2 separate regions of the Homo sapiens genome follow, and region 1 is linked to region 2. Evidence: promoter capture Hi-C in human tissues and cell types (Jung and others, 2019). All regions are on one chromosome and are shown on one strand. The core of a region is centred on a gene start or on the middle of the fragment in contact, and the rest is flanking DNA. Distances in the headings are between cores, read along the strand shown. Region 1 has its middle 19 kb from the start of GGTLC1. Region 2 holds the start of CST5 (cystatin D).

Region 1 (3,410 bases), core at 139-2,638, 90 kb before region 2:
CAAAGGATACAGGAGGTTGCTGACAGGCCTCCTGCTGAGCACATCTGACAATACAGCAACAATATGAATTATACTAGTTAGGTACCATAACATATAGAATAAAATAAGCATCAAAAGTTCTTATTGTTATGAATGCACAAAGTAATAAACAAATGAGAAGAAAGTATTTTTTCTGATAGGAATATGAACAAATAAATGTGGAAAAAGTAAAGTTAGAACATCAATGAATAATAAAACTACTGGATTAAAGGTTGATGAGGAGCAAGATAGTTACATAGTCTCCAAACATCTCCCTGCTAGATCCCTACTAATTATAAAGATGAAATTGATAGCCTCTTTTTGGAGAACCCCAGGAGTCACCATCTTAACCCGGGGATGAAGGTTAACATCGCTAACGTAGGGGCAGCCATGGTCATGCGTCTTCTCATGTGTGCACTGGGAAGGACAAAGTGCCACCTCTGTGGCATTCCTGCCAAAAAATACATCATGTGAATTTAATCGTGAAGTTGAAAAATCATGTCAAGGGCATCCTACAAAGTAACTGGCTTTACTCTGTTTTTTTTTTTAAGACAAAATCCATGATCAAGAGGCCCACATAAAGACTGTGAAAGTGATTAGGTTTAAGACAGACCAAGAAGATGCATCAGTCAATGGACCATGTAATCCTGTATTGGATTTTAGAGAGGGGAAGAGAAAACTTTGGGGACAATTGATGAAATCTGAATATGGGCTGTGGATTACATAATGGCATTATATCAATATTAAATTGTTTGACTCTGAAAACTGTACTGTGGTTATATAATAGGATATCCTTCTTCTTGAGAAACACATGCTGAACTGTTTAAAGATAAAAGGGGCACAATGTCCCCAATTTACTCTCAAGTAAATAGATCAATAGGTACCAAATTTGGCAAATTGTAAATTGTCAGTAAATCTGCATATATATATATGAGCTCCTTCTACAACTCTTGCAACTTTTCTATACATTTTAAATTACAACAAAAAAACCTAAGCAATAAATTGGGAGCCAATCTCTATTGTCCTATAGATGTCAAAAGTAAATCCTATAGGTAGGTGAATCTGAAAAGCAAGCTATCTCTTTGTGAGCCATTGAGGCTACAGTGGTAAACCAACAAGGTTTCTGCCTCATGGAAAATGGTAAAGTTGGGCCTCCAGGTGTTCCCCCAGCTACTGCAGGTGCCCTTGGCACCCTTCTTTCTGAGCAGATGCTCTTAGCAGCAGCAGCTCCCAGCACCTGCTTCTCAGCAGCAGCAGCCTGGCACAGCACCTTGCTCTTGACCACTGCTCCCTCGGAAGGGCCCTCCCCTGAGGGCAGAGTCAAGAGACAGTAGTCAAAGTCTGACTCCTACTATTAGCAGATGGCACTGAGGGAGTTACCACCTACTAAAGTGGCTCCCAGCCTCCTCCACAGTTGCTCTTCCTCAGCACACCAGATTGTAGACCAAGACCGTTATTACATTATCTAGAGTCAGCTTTAGGGCAGCACAATGCTACCTTGTGTACTAGTTATCCACTGCTATGTAACAAAATACCCTGAGGCATGGTGAAATTCATGACCTCACAGTGCTATGGGTCAGAAGTCCAGGAGCATCTTAGCTGGTTGGCTCTGGCTCAGGGTCTATTGCCAAGTTTCATCCAAGGTTGCAGTCATCTGAGGTTTTGATCAGGGCTGCAAGATCTGCTTCTAAATGCTCTTGCATGGCTGTGGGCAGGAGGCCCCAGCTCCTCACCATGTGGGCCTCTCATAGGGCTGCTCACAACATAGCAGTTGGCTTTCCCTGTGGACAGTGGGCTGGGAGAGAGCTACCAAAATGCAAGCCACAGTGTCTTTTGTTGCCTTATCCCAGAGGTACCACATCACCAGTTCTGCCATCCCAATGCTGGTGCACTGTGGGAGGAAACCACTGAGGGATGTGACTATTAGAAGCCTGGGACCCATCCCAGGGGCTGTATGCCACCATCTTCCCTCTGGCCTCAATGAGTTCTGTCCATCAGACATGCAAAATAACTCAACCCTTCCCAAGACTCCTATAAAAGTGATCCCATCCCATCAGCTGAAATCCGTGGTCTGTTATAGTTCCTCACAACTCTTGAATTGAAAAGATCAGATCTTTCCCCCTCAACATAAAATGGGTACAGGAATAGGTGTAGAGTCCCCAGATACCCCCTCTTTCCTTCTGTGTCTGGACAGAAAACCACAGAATGTCTTGATCTCTGTGACTCAGACAGCTACAGGTTCTTCGAAGCAGGCTCAAATCAAACAAAGTTATATCTTGAACATTTTCAGGCACTGATAAGGGTATCTAGGTTGTTGCCCCAAACACTGAAAGAAACTGGCCTCATGCCCTGACCCCTCACTGTGGACTTGTGTAGGCAGAGCAGCCTTTTCTCACACTGTGTATCGCGAGGATTGCTGCAGCCCTCTGTTAATTAAGTTCCCCAAATAATGCTCTGGACTGAAGTTTAGTGCTTCTTTCTTTGTAATCCCAACTGGCCCCATCATGGGAGGGTTTGGGGCTCTCTGTTGTGGGACCTCCTCTGCTGCCACTTTTGGGGTGATGCCAGCTCTGGGCTCAGCAGAATAAAACAGTAAGAACCACCTTCAGCCCTCCTATTCAAAAAGAGGGAAACAAGAGGTGCACCAGCACCCCTGGCTGCAGCAGTTCTGGAATCCAGCTTAAAAAATGTTGGATGTTTAGGACTCAGTCCTACTCATGCCCATCTGTTCTTCTCTGTGCCTCCTCAACTGGTCCTTGGGATTCTTGTTTCCACTATCTGAATCCTTCTTTTTCCATGAAAGGTAGCACACATTTGCAGCTGAGTAATTTTCTCAACTGGCTTCCTGCTAGGAGGAATGGCCCATCTTATTATGCACTGTTTCGATCCTTTCATACACTGATGGTGATTTGTCAGATATAATTTTTTAAAAAATGTGTGAATCTCATTGAGTGTTATTCCATTAGACAAAAGTCACACCCACAAATCAGTCTGAAATAAGCCCTTCTCTACCTTAGGCTTCTGCTCAGAGACAATGCCTTAACCTTCTTAAAAGTCCTTTTGTTTGATTGAGAGGGTCTGTGAGTAAGTCATCTTGTTAGATATCTGAGAGTCTTTTGGCTGATTGAATAGTATTTTGAGGCACCACTCAAATAAAGCGTTTAAGAGTCATACTCTTAGCCTCATCTTTAGGCTATGCTTTCCTGAGAGTGTCTTGGATTTGATCTTTGCTTAGAAGATATGTCTTAAGTTTAGCATTATTTGCCATTGGGGAAGGTTGGGAATCTTTACCAGCAAAGCCTGGATTTTTTGTTGTTTTTCCTACAGCTTATATTTCTCCCCTTGAATATTATCATAAACAGCAAGGAAACAAAACAAATGGCACCGTCATC
Region 2 (3,352 bases), core at 393-2,892:
TCTCTCTGCAGGATTCCATTCCTGGGAAGCTCAAGGACAGGCAACAAAGGAGTCCACAGGACCAGATGTGGGCTGCCAGGGTCGGGTGGGCATGAGGGTGGGCTTCAGAGGCAGGAGGAAACCATCTGGGGTGAGGCAGATATCACAGGTGTGGACAAAGTGGTAACACAAGTGTATGCATTTATGAAATCCCCCAGATTGGGCACATACAATTAGGCATTTTATTGTGTGTAAATTCTACCTCATTCAATGTAATTTTTAAAATATTACATGAGTTTTCCAAGCAGTGTACAGAGGACCAGTGCTGGCAGCACGTCTCCCAGAGGGGAGGAGCAAGAGAGGCTCTTGGGCTCCCACATTCATCCTGTGGCTGCTGCTCCTTCTCCTGACACCCCCACCACCTGCCAGGGGTCTCCCTGCGCCTTCCACCTGGACACACCCACAGTTACCGTGAGACTCCAGGTCGTTCCCTTCCCTGCTCACACCCCCTCCAGGAGCTTCCTCTTCCTGGAGCAGGCATGCCCAGCCTTGCCTCAGGGCCTTTGCACTGACTATTCCCTGCTGCCTGGGGCTTCTCAACCTTTCCGGTCTCTTAGAGACTTCCCTGACCAGGGTCCAGTAGCACCCACCCTCTCTCTAACTGAGCGACTATAATTCCCTGATCTAAATTGTTGATCACCACTCTGCATCCTCCCACACACCCTAATGGCTGGGCTATGCAGTACCACAGCCACCAGCAGCCACTCGTGGCCACAGGGCACTTGAAATGGGGCTAGTCCACAGTGACGCTTGGTCTAACTGTAAAAAATACACAGGGAACTTCAAGACATTACACTCACACAAAAGAATGTAAACTAGCTCCTTAAGAATAGTCCTGAAGTGTTGAAGTATTTTGGATATATTAGGTTAAAGTAGAAATACCAAAATTACTTTCAGCTGTATCTTTTAACTTTTTCAAATGTGTTTTAAATTGCTCCTGGGTTTCTGTCACATCTCTGTTGGATGGCAGCTCTGCAAGTTCATGTCTACGGCTCTATTGCCCAGACTGCTTGGTGCAGGGGGAAGCTGGTGACAGGTTTGTTTATTGAATAATGAGGAGTTATGAAACGAGAACCCAGTGAACTTTACCCAAAGGTTAATTACTTTATGTTTGGCAAAGAAGTTCCCCAGAAGAGGGCATGGACAAGGTCATCCCGGAGCTTCTGAAACAGCTCCCTGCCCCAGGAATTCCCAGACCATGACCACGTGCTCCTGGATGCCCCTGACATCTGAAGACTTTAGAAGGCCAAGCCCTGTATTTCTCCCTTTCCTGTGGACATAGGTGGTCACCAGGTTTCACAGCCCAGGGAGCGGTGTCACCTCTCTGGAATCCAGAGTGAGCCAAGCTTTAGAGCACTGAGGAAGAGGGGCAGGGCTGTGGGGAGGTTGCGGTCAGGACAGGAGTGGGGAGGAGGATGAGGAGGAGGCATGGGAGGAGCGAAGGGAACTTAGGGAGGGAGGGAGGTGGTTGGGGGTGGAAAGGGAGATAGAGACAGAAGAGGAGGGGTAGAAAGAGGAGGAGGAGCCAGGGGCGGGGCCAGGGAGCAGGTGGGGTTGGGGGACACCCAAGTAGGATAAATGCACAGCTAGCTTCTGGCCTGGGCTTCCTGCCTCAGCCTTCTGCTGCTTTGCTCTCTGGGAGATCCAGCTCCTTGCTCTGTGTCCCAGTAGAACATGATGTGGCCCATGCACACCCCACTGCTGCTGCTGACTGCCTTGATGGTGGCCGTGGCCGGGAGTGCCTCGGCCCAATCTAGGACCTTGGCAGGTGGCATCCATGCCACAGACCTCAATGACAAGAGTGTGCAGTGTGCCCTGGACTTTGCCATCAGCGAGTACAACAAGGTCATTAATAAGGATGAGTACTACAGCCGCCCTCTGCAGGTGATGGCTGCCTACCAGCAGGTGCGTGCTACCACCACCCTGGGGGTCCTGAGTCCCAGCTGGGTTTTTTGCCTCACCCCCCAGAGCACTCCCAGCAAATCAACATTATCTAAACCGCAGACTCATTCAGCTTTCTCTGACTGTCTGCTGATGGTCTTCATGCCCTAGGACACTCCTTGGCCGTGAGTGCATGAGTTCAGCCCTGTCCTGTCCCCTCGGCCTCTTTTAACCTGCAGCAGCCACTGTGTCTGTACCATGACTGTGGCATTTCCCAGGGTCCAGCAGGTGTGGATGGAGACTGTGCTGACTCTGGGTGGGCTTGATGCTGCTCAGGATGAGATCCAGGCCACGAGGTTCATCTTCCTCCCTGAGTCCTCTCCACAGGGGCCACACGGGAACCTGACTCCTTGTCCTGGATAGCCCCGCTTCCCTCCCAAGTCACGCCCCTGGGCACAGCCCGTTATGGCTAGTGGCCTTCACTCTCAGGCTGGCTGACCACCCCCTACAGCCCAGGACAGCTGAGTTCCTGCTGGGGTAGAGCATGCCTGACCCTGCCTCTGCCAGCTAACGCAGAGTTAGACCTCAGCAAAATGAGGACAGCAATCACCCAGCAGAGTGAAGGAGGTGGTTGGGTCCAGAGGGAGGAAGCTTCAGCAGGGCTACCGAGCCCAGCTTGACCTACGTCCCATGGCAGAGCAGCAGTGACACAGCGACCACAGGGCTATATGGCCTGCCAGCCTTTAGAGCTCCTCCACCTTCTCTTGGAAAGTCAGAGGAGTCCAGACCAGCCCTGTTTCTCCTCCTGCAGCCCTCTCCCTGCACAGGAGGGGCATTCCCTGGTGCTGTGGTCCCTGCTGGCCTGCACTCCCTCTTAAGTGTGTCACTCACTGGGAGTGAAGCACAGAATGATGTAGATCGTTGGGCCCTGGAGCCTATTTTACAGAGCAGCAGACTGACACCGGAGGGATCACAGGACTTCCATGTGGTTCTACAGGACTTGTGTGTGGTTCCACAGGGCAAGGTCTAGCACCCTGGTCCCAGGGTCCCTCATCCCATGCTTCTCCACAGTTCTGACAAGTCATGTTTTGGGGCGGCACTGTGCAGGGAAAGCATTCAGTTCTCTTCTGAAGTTGCAACCCTAAGACATGCAGGTGTGTGACTCACTTTAGAAATATTGCCTTGAAAATCACACCTGGAATGGAGGCATGCAGGAGGCAATGTTTATTGGCCTAAAACATCAATGTATGTGAGCATCTCATCTCCTACTGAGAAATGAGGAAAAATACCTCTGGGTTAAATGGCAGGAATGAGATGCTCTGTGGACTGAATGCCAGGAGCTGGAAGTTAGCTGAAATTTCATCATCAGGTGGCAGCCTTCCTAGGATGGGACCAGTGTCCCTGCCCCCTGAGCACAGGTAGCAGAATTCAG

Evidence for each region. Contacts are between HindIII fragments. The study calls those that stand out against the background at their distance.
Region 1: a contact is called between a fragment that was not itself captured here and the fragment with the promoter of CST5 in region 2, in 2 of the 25 tissues and cell types used here (dorsolateral prefrontal cortex and spleen).

Annotation. Positions count from the first base shown.
Region 1 is chr20:23,968,084-23,971,493 of GRCh38, reverse strand. No RefSeq gene overlaps it. Among named protein-coding and RNA genes, the nearest start is that of GGTLC1, 19 kb to the left of the region's middle. The HindIII fragment of the contact is 5,449 bases long and covers 1-3,410 here.
Region 2 is chr20:23,878,038-23,881,389 of GRCh38, reverse strand. It overlaps CST5 (cystatin D), which reads left to right and starts at 1,642. Exons shown (of 3, transcript NM_001900.5): 1 at 1,642-1,944. The coding sequence starts at 1,714. RefSeq lists an enhancer at 1,320-2,149. The HindIII fragment of the contact is 5,935 bases long and covers 1-3,352 here.